Regions from separate parts of the Homo sapiens genome. Here regions 2, 3 and 4 are each linked to region 1. The links are contacts of gene promoters, found by promoter capture Hi-C in blood cells and fetal thymus (Javierre and others, 2016). All regions are on one chromosome and are shown on one strand. The core of a region is centred on a gene start or on the middle of the fragment in contact, and the rest is flanking DNA. Distances in the headings are between cores, read along the strand shown.

What was found. Contacts are between HindIII fragments. The CHiCAGO score rates a contact against its expected background, and 5 or more counts as called.
Region 2: a contact is called between a fragment that was not itself captured here and the fragment with the promoter of SPATA1 in region 1, in 1 of 17 cell types (erythroblasts). The highest score is 8.4, in erythroblasts.
Region 3: a contact is called between a fragment that was not itself captured here and the fragment with the promoter of SPATA1 in region 1, in 1 of 17 cell types (M0 macrophages). The highest score is 6.3, in M0 macrophages.
Region 4: a fragment that was not itself captured here is called in contact with the fragment with the promoter of SPATA1 in region 1 in 2 of 17 cell types (megakaryocytes and erythroblasts); the score reaches 5.9 in megakaryocytes.

What each region holds. Positions count from the first base shown.
Region 1 is chr1:84,504,944-84,507,643 of GRCh38, forward strand. It overlaps SPATA1 (spermatogenesis associated 1), which reads left to right and starts at 1,443. Exons shown (of 14, transcript NM_001397487.1): 1 at 1,443-1,475. It overlaps GNG5 (G protein subunit gamma 5), which reads right to left and starts at 1,638. Exons shown (of 4, transcript NM_005274.3): 1 at 1,493-1,638; 2 at 1,068-1,358. The coding sequence starts at 1,148. RefSeq lists silencers at 904-1,033, 1,284-1,363. The HindIII fragment of the contact is 7,618 bases long and covers 21-2,700 here.
Region 2 is chr1:83,927,432-83,930,131 of GRCh38, forward strand. It overlaps TTLL7 (tubulin tyrosine ligase like 7), which reads right to left. Exons shown (of 21, transcript NM_024686.6): 10 at 1,705-1,799. Among named protein-coding and RNA genes, the nearest start is that of TTLL7-IT1, 56 kb to the right of the region's middle. The HindIII fragment of the contact is 745 bases long and covers 1,036-1,780 here.
Region 3 is chr1:85,056,336-85,059,035 of GRCh38, forward strand. No RefSeq gene overlaps it. Among named protein-coding and RNA genes, the nearest start is that of DNAI3, 4.6 kb to the right of the region's middle. The HindIII fragment of the contact is 3,131 bases long and covers 1-2,700 here.
Region 4 is chr1:83,910,720-83,913,419 of GRCh38, forward strand. TTLL7 (tubulin tyrosine ligase like 7) reads right to left here. Exons shown (of 21, transcript NM_024686.6): 15 at 446-644. Among named protein-coding and RNA genes, the nearest start is that of LINC01725, 51 kb to the left of the region's middle. The HindIII fragment of the contact is 3,816 bases long and covers 1-2,700 here.

The DNA.
Region 1 (2,700 bases), core at 193-2,692:
CTGACACTTCTAGTTAAGAAAGCTTAGAGACCCTCTCAGTTCACAAAACATTTCGGCAAGTAATAAAGACTAGCCTGATGAGTATAAAATCAAATCATCTTAGGAACTGGCTGCTTTTAACAGGGCACATGATTTACATTCTTGTTTCTTTTTTTAACTGCAGAAGTGTTTCACATGTAGCCTGACCTATTGTACCAGAAAGAAGCCAATCCATTTAGGACTGTAAAAATCAGGAAATACTTAGAACAGCACTTGAATGTCAAGTTATTCTATCAACACAGACAAAAGGCTTTTTCTCCCAAAGTACCCCAAGACAAGGCCAATACTAACCAGACGCCAAAATAAGACCAATAATTACCCACAATAATCATTTTCTCCGGCATGCGGACCAGTCGATATCCCCAAGGTCAAATATGAGCAAACTGTGCCATAGGTATGAAATGCACGCTTTGTTCGAGGTTGTACGGGGCACTGACCGGAACTTTACACTCCAGGATCGTTTCGAAAAATGCTTATTCAATCCACAGTTTAAGTTATGCAATAATTCGCTTAAAAGTATGTGTTCAACGGACAAGAGAAGTTGAAGGTAAGAATTTAATACTAAAGGAAGTAGGTTTGGGAAAGATCAAATGGGAGAAAAGTCTGCTCTGAATCAAAAGTCGGAAAATACCCTGTCCGATGAGAAACAGGAGGCTGGCAAAGTGGGAAAGGAAGGGTGCGGACAGCGCGCGGAGGCGCAGCTGTTGGTGAGACCAGCCGAGAAGGCTGCCAAGGGAGGTAGAGACGGAGGAGGACCGGAATGTCGGCCACGGTTCAACCCAGGGGCCAGCCCGCCTCGGAAAGTCCTGGGGCGGAAGGGCGAACTAATCGTCCCCCTAAAACACAGCGTAGACCCACGCGGCGCCTGCTCTAAAGCTGGCCGCTCCCCGATCGCCGCCGCTGAGCGCGCGTCCTCTCCAGGGGAAGCGAGGGCCGGCGCGTGTCCCGCCCGCCCCCGCCAGCTGGGCCGCCGGATCCCACCCGCCGCCGCCGCCTTCCTCCCGCCTCGGCCGCCCGCCCCCGCTCACTTTTACGCGGTTGAGTCCGGCCTCCAGCCGGAGCTGTTGAACCACTTTCTTCATAGCGGCGACGCTGGAGGAGCCAGACATGGTGCACGCGACGGCCGGGCCGATTCGTGGGTCGGTGGGTCGTGGGCCGTGGGTCGGCGGGGCCAGACAACTCAGCGGCGCGCGGCGGGGGCGGGGCTCCGAACTTTGTCTCTAAGTTTCCGGTTCTGTGCTCAGCGGCTCCACCCTCGGTGCGCATGCGCGCCTTGCCAGCCCTCTGTTCCAGCTCCACACCCGGCCCCGAGCGCGAGCCTGGAGGAGGGGGAGGAGAAGGGGCGGAGCAGTCGGTGGGCGCGGCGGCTGCTGGAGGCTAGCGCGACCCGACTCTTAAGTTTTCTTTTCCTCTCCAGAGGGGCCGATTAGGGAGAGGTAAGGAGAGAGCTTACCGTTAGCCGCGAAGAACTAAGAGGGGGTCTGAAGAGGACCAGGGAGGGAAGGCAGAGCTTGTGGGAGTTTCTAAAAGGCCCGGCGGCGGGTGACCAGGAGGTCTCAGTTTTCCTCCCAGTTTGTGGGAAGGGTTGAGGGAAGTGAGGGGAGATACTGGGTGAGGCGTAGGAGCTACTGTGCACCCGGCGTGAGTCACCCGCACACCCCCGCCCCGTACAGGCGTGTCTCTCTGTGACCCGAGTTTGGCCAACAGGCATTTTCAGTTCCACCCCCAACCCCCAGCCCCGCTGACCCGAGGCGGAGAGCAGGCGCGGAGGTCGCTGTCGCGTACCCAGCGGAGCCGGGCGGGCGGGGAGCAGGGGCGCTGATTCGCTGGAGAAGGGATCTTCTCGAGGTTTGACTTTACTGGCTTCTTAGCTCTTGAATCGGTTTTTCTGAAGGAGATTGTGAAGAAGCCAAGGTGCTGGCTGAAGATTACACCTGTCTGCTCGGTTACCCATTTACTCTGGAGAATTAATGCTTATTGTACTTTTTAAAATAAAACTTATTTTTGTGTTTCCGGAAAGTTTGCTCTTTAGTATTTCCGTTGTAATTTATTACCTCCTGCTTGAAATTGAGTACCAAAGGAGTTTTTAGGAGAGAGGGTAGGGTCTAACCAAACAAAATAGGCTCAGCCAGTAGGTCTTTCTTTCATCCACGGAAATATGTGTGTTATGTCACAGCACTAAGGGCAGATGTTTCCTATTTCTTTTCGGGTAGTCAATCTCCGAATGCGCTGATGTTTTCCATTAATGTTAATAATTTTATCATTAATGGATTTCAAATTTTTTATTAGGGAAGCATGTGTAATTGCACTGGTCAACAAAATCTAATTTATTTACTCAACAGTTTATATCAGTTCGCAAAAATGTACATCGTAAGTTTAGCATTTTACTTAATTCATACGGATGTAATGATTGGGGTTAAAACCAGGGTTTGAATTCTGGCTCTGCTACTTACGGTATTCTTGGGCAAGCCACTTAAGTTACTGAGGCTTTATTTCCTTATTTCAAAGTAAATTATACAGCTTCGTAGAGTTGTTTTTCGGAATGAAATGACATTATATGTAAAAAGAATGTGAAAGCTATCTCAATAAATATTGTCTTTTCCCAAAAGGTATTGTAATTATTTCACCTTTGGTGCTTTGTTGACTGTATAATGCTAAAAC
Region 2 (2,700 bases), core at 158-2,657, 580 kb before region 1:
GGATTTGAGTCACAAGCAATAAGGAAAGGCATTCAGAGTAGAGAACAGAATAAATAATCAGTGAGAATGGGCAAGCTATGTGGGAAAAATAATGAGGCAATCAGCCTAACTAAAACAGTTTGGGTTGGAGAGAAACAGGAAATAAGATAGAACAGCTAAGGTTAAGTTATATTAGAAGCTTAGGCTACATGTTGGTAAACAGAATTCTATTTAGGTTCTTGAGCAGAAAGATAACATAATGAAAGTAAGATCATTCCCAATAGTCTGATTAAAATTAATGTTAAGTAGGGGATTTCTAGATTCACAGAACAATTCGTTCTGTCCAAAATTAAAGCACTCCATAAGAAAATTAATTCTATTTAATAAATAGACAAGAATTTTCCCAGTGTTCTTAGTTCCTGCTTAAGATACTGTGATGTGCCCAGTGAAACTCAAGTCTAACACATGCACCCATGGAGCTCTCCACCCAGCTGGAGGAAGAAGGCACTTCTGAAGCATAAGCCTCATTAGCATATGCTCTAAATGTTAAGAACTGTGCTAAATTCTCTGTGGAACAACACTAAGAAAGATAAAGAAAATGAATTTCTACTTTCCCTTAGTTTTAAGTCTAGAAATTTCTGACTGCTTAAACTATACATACCTCACTTTTAAAAACACCAGAACACCCACAGATAATGTCCTGAATTGATACCATAAATGGCAACGTCAAAAGACATGCACACACAACAAAAAAACTAAACACAAGGCTTATTTAAATAATAATAGTAAACTTTCATGCAAAAAACATGTATAGGCATATTGTTTGGAAACATCTTAAATTTAAAAATTGCTTGGAAGCATACCATAACTCTGCTAGAACTCTTGAATGACAATTAAATAAATTGAAATCATAAAATCACTGAGCTTAAATCACCTCAGAGGCCCTTTAATCCAATACTCTAAGCTCTGTTGGAAAATTTCTAATGACAGGTAACTCACTATTTCAGGAAGTGTTTCAGTCAAACATCTAAAAAATTCATTTTGTAATGAGCCAAAAGCTTTTCCCACATAACAGCATTTCAAATATTTGAATCCCATGATCATGTACACTGCAACCAGCCCTACATCCCTACCAGCCAAGTTTTTTCTCAAATTTTACTTGCCTCTCTAAATGGAAAAGTTAACTCTCACTAAACAACTGCCTCTCTTTTTTATTTACATGGGGAGCATGATGTAATGGGAAGACCTCTGGAGAGAAAGTTAGGAAATCCATGTTTGAGTTTTTTTTTTAATTTCCTGAATGAACTCTTTGTGCTTTAGTTTCTTCTTATAAGATGAGGAAGATAATCTAGAGGGTCTCTTAAAGTATTTACCAATTTAATCTTGTACTCTATATTAAATAATTATACCTACATTGAAATTTAACCTCATTTACTGCAGGTACAGACTGTTGCCTGGGAAGCAGGAAAAGCAGTATACAGGAGTAGGGGGGACAGATTTTTTTTTTTAACTATATGAGTTTAAAGAATAGATGGAATCAAGAAATGAAAAATACAAAATGGATGGAACCAAGAAATGAAAAATACAAAATGGATGGAATCAAGAAATGAAAATTATAAAATATAAAAATAAATATACTATTCTGAAAAGCCAATTTTATGTACAAATGATTAATCTATGTCAAATGTGGAGATAAATGTCCAAAAGATAGAGAGAGTATTTTACCTTATGTTTAGTAGCTTCAACGCATTTAGCAGCACTCCCCTTTTTACATCATAGTCTATTTTCTGATCAGTTCCAAAGCTTGGGGCTCGGTTAATCTGAAATTTACAAAGAAGACAATATTGGAAGGTAAATAAATATTCAATACATATTTGTTAATCCAATGTGGGATCTCTAGCCAGTAGAACAACTCTACATTAAACCTCAAAGCTTTACATGGCAGATGGCCCAGTTGTTATTGCCACATCTCCATTCTGCATCACCCTAGGTCAACAAATTGCAAGGGATTGACTATTAGCACCATCTCCTTCCCAAGGCTGCCTTAGTTTAGGAGCTTTACTGTCAGTATAGGCTGGCCTCTCCCTCCATTCCACTCTCTCCACTACCCCATGCAATTTAGGTTTTTTAAGTTTAGGAAAGTTAAAAGTGATTTAGCCTAACAAAAAGGAAATAGTGATATTCATCATGTTACCAACACAGTAATAATTATATCAACACAATAATAATTATATACATCTATATATTTAAAATATGGAAACTATCAGTGCTCCCTTTTCACTGCCTCAGATCTTCAGGAATTCATTAAGATGAAAAATAAAAGAGCTGGAGTGTTTGTTTTTGTCTTTGTTGAGTCTTGTTACTATTGTCATTGTTATAAAAATATAACTGGAATAGCTGATGTTTAAGAAAATTTCTTAATCAGTTAAATCGGTTGGTTAGAACACTGCTGAGTTCAACACAACAGCTTAGCTTCTTGACCACCAACTAATCCCTTAGGCTATCTCAAACATATGTATATATGCTACTAGTCACAGTTATACACATCTGTCACCACAAGAGACAAAACAATTGAAAGCATTCATTCCACAACTTGCACCTGAAGAAATATCACATTATAATCAAGAAATTACCCAGGAATACAACATCTTTAATTAGAAATGTGTCACAGGTTCACCGCAGAAAAATAAGTAAAACTAAGGAAAACAAATAACAAAAGAT
Region 3 (2,700 bases), core at 22-2,521, 550 kb after region 1:
CCAGCAGTTCAGTTTTTAGTGTGTTTTTGAGATGTCTGTAAAGTGCTTCTCAGACTATCTGTTAAAGGGTTAGTTGACTTGGTTTTGTTTTCATTTCTTTCACAGACTAATAATTCTGTAAAATTACAACATAAATAAATTGCTAAAAGAATGAAATAAGGACGTTTGTAATACGAATCTCAATTTTGTTCATACATAACATAAAGTTACTGTGTCAATTTGCTAAAAAGTTTTTAAACACCCAATTTCAGTACTACTTTTATTGCAGCTGGGTAACAATTATTTCATAAACTAGTGGTCTAGTAGCAAATATTTCCTGGCTGGCATTGAAGGAAAGGCCAGGCTTTAGATAACTATGTATTAAACATCCAAGTGGAAATGTCTCGTAGACAGTTGGATACTCAAATCTACTTTTAATAGTCACCAAAGGACAGAAGTAATGTCTATACATTCATTTTGAACAGAATTTTGATTAATTCTGGTTCCACAGCTATTCATTGAGAATATGCCACATTTGAAGCACTATCTGGTTTTTCATGGCAATGCTATGAGGAAGGGACAGATTAAAATCTGTGGGCAATCTGGACAGGCTAGTAATTTGGTATCTGTTCATACTAATACCCCTTAAAAATGTGTTCACTGTTTTTCTAGTGGAAATAGGGAAAAACTGATTTTTGTTAATAAACATATATATTCTTTCTTTACATTTGAAACAACTTATTAAAAACACACTTTTCCAAACTAGACAACTTTTGGGGAGAGTGCTGAACTATTCAAAATATAAGTATCAGGCCGGGCACAGTGGCTCATGCCCATAATCCCATCACTTTGGGAAGCCAAGCCAGGCAGATCACTTGAGGTCAGGAGTTCAAGACCAGGCTGGCCAAAATGGTGAAACCCCATCTCTACTAAAAATACAAAAAAATTAGCTGGACGTGGTGGCACACACCTATAATCCCAGCTACTCAGGAGGCTGAGGCACAAGAATCGCTTGAACTTGGGAGGCTGAGGTTGCAGTGAGCCAAGATCATGCCACTGCTCTCCAGCCTGGGTGACAAAGCAAGACTCCATCTTGAAAAAATTAAATCAAAATGTAGGTATCAACGCAGGCTGAACTCAGGAATGGGAGTATTGCCTTTTGGTTGACCCTCATGATTGGTACTTTTACATGGCAAAATTTTTCAACATAGATTTTATTTCATATCTGAAGCTATTTGGTTGAGAGAAGAATACATTTATGTCTCTCCTGGCATGTAAAAATTTCCCTATGGAAACCCAAACTAACTGACAACCTATTCACAATTCACTACAGGGAAGTTTGGTATCTTTTGAAGAATGCCCCTTAGGGCAGCATTGGTTGCCCTCACCCTTAGTTGTTCAATGTGGTTGCTCTTGCCCTTTATCTGGCCTGGCTCTGATGAAAGCATTATCATCTCAAATTTTGCAGATGAGATTTAGAGAGTTTAATAACTTGTCTAATGCCACCTATGCAGAAAGTGACAAATTTAGGCTTCAACATAATTTCCTTACTTTAAATACAATATTTGAGTGACTTCACTTTAAAAAATATTTAAGTGCTCTAATGACAATAAAAATTATACATGTAGAACTGATATTCACTGGCTTTTAATGCTTTATGATATTGTAGGACTGTCACTACCATACAATGATTCTCCCACCACCAACTATTTCTGGGTGTAGAGAGTTAAGTCTCAGCCATACTGACAAGTAAGTCCACTCTGCTACCACATGGCCCTGTTTTTACCTCCACAGCTCTTGCTTTGGCCCTTCTGGAGATATCTACTGCCTGAAGACTGCAGATGAGTGCTAGAGCCCTGCCTTCTCTTATGGGAAGGACCAGCAATTCTGGAGCCACATGGGGCCTGTGTCCTCCTTAGTCCCCAGTAGACTCAAGCTATTCTGTGCAGTTAAGAATGCCTTTCTCCTGACTTTAATGTTGTATAGATCCTAATTTCTCATTGATGTTCTAGTCCATTTTTTTTTCTAGAATTGCCAAAATTGGCCCTTTCTTCCAACAGCTAAATCTTTGTCCCAGGGTCAGGCTTTTTTGTCTCTTTTTCTCCTTTCTGAAGCTGAGTACTCTTCAGATGATTCTCACTTCCTCATGCAATAGGTTGTGGTAGTTTCCCCAAGTGCTTGGAAAATATGTAGTAATCCCAGCAGTTTAGGGCTCAAACAAGAACATTTCTCCCTTCCAGACATAAAATAGGGTCCTCCACGCCTAGTTTCTGAGCTAACTTTTTAAAAAAATCCATAAAAAGAATGAGTCACTCACCAAAATAACTAGTAAAAATCTACCTCATATCAATTTATCAGATTGTCCTTTTGTAAACCCAATCTGAAACTTATCAAGATGTCCTTAAAGAATCAGAGAAATATTTTCAATTATGACTTCTTGACTCTTTAGATGTTCACTCAATCAATAAAACTAAAACTAATTTTTACATATCTTCAAGTTTCAGGGAAATTCAATTCAACCTCCCCTGGAAAAGCATGGACACATTCACTAGCTACCATGATGATATTTCATTTCTGACCACTCCCATGAAAGAACAGATGGTCAATCAATCATGAATTTGTAACATGAAGAAATTTCTAAACATTTCCAATTTAACTTTTAACTTTCTTGGTATTGTGACTTATGACTCATTCCATCAAATGGACATCCTCTTGGCATGT
Region 4 (2,700 bases), core at 96-2,595, 590 kb before region 1:
ACTTACAGATACATTCAAGTCAAATGCCTAGGGATATACATACTTTTTGAAAAATATATAATAAGTGATAGTATAAAACAAAGTGGGTGAAGGAAGTAGAGAGGCAGAAATTGAATGAGAGAGAATATATTGGCTTAAGAGACACATAATCATCAGATCAGCCATGAGGCACATTTTACAAAACCCAGGCAAAAATCTGGCACCTAACAAAAACGATGAAATATAGAATAGATCCTTAATCCAGCCCTTTCGTTTTCTATTTGCAGATCTTGAAAGGGCTTAATTAAGGGATGTGCCCGAGTCTGGTTAGGGAAGGAAGTGGGATGGAATCCAGGTCTCCTCACACACAACAGGGTTCATTTGGCCCAAGGACCTTTTACTGAGTTTAATAATTTCAGTTCCATAATTCTTTATATAACATCTAAATTAGAAGAAATTGACTTACTGGGTTGTTGAATTAATTTGTAGTGGTTGGAGGGTTTAAGATTATATGTAACTTGCTTTTCTCTTTTCTTATTTTGGTACTCTTCTTTTTCATTTTCGTCAGATTCTGAAGAGCTGCTGCTACTATCATAACTGCTGTCACTGCTGCAGTACTTTGGTCTTTTCATTATCTCAGTACTCTCAGGCATAGAACACAGAGGCTAAAAAAGATGGAAATGTGTTATTTTGTTAGAATTCTTAAAAAAGGTTTATTGATATGATTAGTTACTATTTTTAATTTCCCCCTATGCTTGCTGCTTTTTACTGAAGGTTGAGAATCCCCCCAAATACTATTGCTGCCATGCTGCTTAGCCTACAGTGCTATGCATTGATTGTTGTTTCTGCAAAATATTCTTTCTTAAATGATATAGTCATGATGAGGAATATGTTGTTCCTACATGATTGGAATAAAGGGCCAGAGTATCCATAAACAAAGAATAACAAAATAAAGGGAAAATATTTGAGATAAAAATATAAAAATAAGAAATATAATCAGCTTTTTTCATTCCATAAGAGATTACTCATCAAGACTCAGAGATCTACCTTTGTCTTATCATTAACGTTCAGAGTTACTCAATAAATGTGTATGCATGTGCACGTGCAAGTGCATCTGTGTGTGTATGTGTGTGGTGTGTGTGTGTCTGTGTTTGTGTGTGTGAGGGGGTGGGAGGAGAAAGAGAGACAAAAAGGATAAAGAGAATAAGAATACTAAAACATTGCCTGTGAGCCTATCCATTCAGACAATGTGCAGGAAGAAGTTAGGTATCCCTTACAAGACTAACTGGCTGTGGATATTTATAAAAATAAAATTTTTAGTTAACTGTCCATTTTCCAAACTGCTCAAGAACAACTGATGTCTTTTCTCAGAGTATTCCTAACTCTGGCACGTAGCTTCTGGCCATAATAGAGTGACATAACTTTTCATTGCCCATGCTACATTTTAAAAATTAATAATATAATATGAAGATCAGTATGGGTAAATTTTCATGGAGGAAGGATAAATTTCTCTAATAGAGAATGGAAGATCTGTAAAGACTGAAAATGCCATGCTGTTACGTGTTACCATCCCTATTAGAATCACTTGTTTCTAGTCCTCCCAATCAATGTGTTTCCAATGATGCCAGCTGAAGGAATGGAAGGAAAGGGACGTGGGACAGCTTCACATCAGAAAGAATGTGCATAACCAAGAACAAGACAGTTTTATAACTCAGTCATTCTAAGAGACTATTTATTACACACACCATATGCCTCCTATTCCTGATGGGAGAGGTTCCTTCAGTTGTATACTAGTTGCTTGTTTTCTGTTAAATCAAACAAAAATGTTTTGATGTTAGCATACACTATAATGAAATCCTTGGATAGCATGGGGATTTCACTGAAAGAAGGTATACCCTCTAGTGTAACAGTGTAGAATAAAAATAAAGACAGAAATAGCATTTCATGAAGTGCCTGGAATACAGAGTGAGCCAAAAAGCATGATCTTCTTAAATTTACAGTCTTTGCAAAGGATGAAAAATAACCAAAGCAGGAAAGTAGTTTAATTCACTAAGGTACCAACTTGTGTTTAAAAGCATGTGCTCCTTCTGATGGTCTAATATTTACTAAGTACTGACAATGTTCAAAGAGATATGCATAAAAACATTTACCAGTAACACAATCATCAAACATTTTGACAATCTTGGGGAATATGAATTCTAGAGGAAGGTTGTTTCCTCAGAAGTTTAGCATACCCAGAAGAAAGAGTGGCACAATCAGGCTTGCTAGTAGTGCCTTCCTTCATGTAGCAAACAGCTTTAAGTGTTCTTAAAGAGCTTGACTACATAATGAGTTATTCGACCCTATAAAGAATCACAAGGGGAAACGTACAGCTGAGCCTTTGTGTCTTATATGCACTTGGGACTTTTTGACCAACACACTGTTCAAGCAATAATTAACTAGCAGTCACAGCAACATAAACTCTAAATAGTGTCTTAACTACAAAATGGAATTTGTAAACTGGCATTGAGTTATGGCACAACCATACTACTTATTTTTTATGTCCAATTTTATTATGAAGTAGGCTATATATAAAAAATGTATAAATATATGAAGAATAAACACCCACATGCCTATCACCCAGCTTAATAAAAAGAACATTGCTAATATTTTACTGCAATTACTTTTGCACCAACCTAATACTTCATGTGATATTTATTATTTATGTAGCTAATGTTTCTT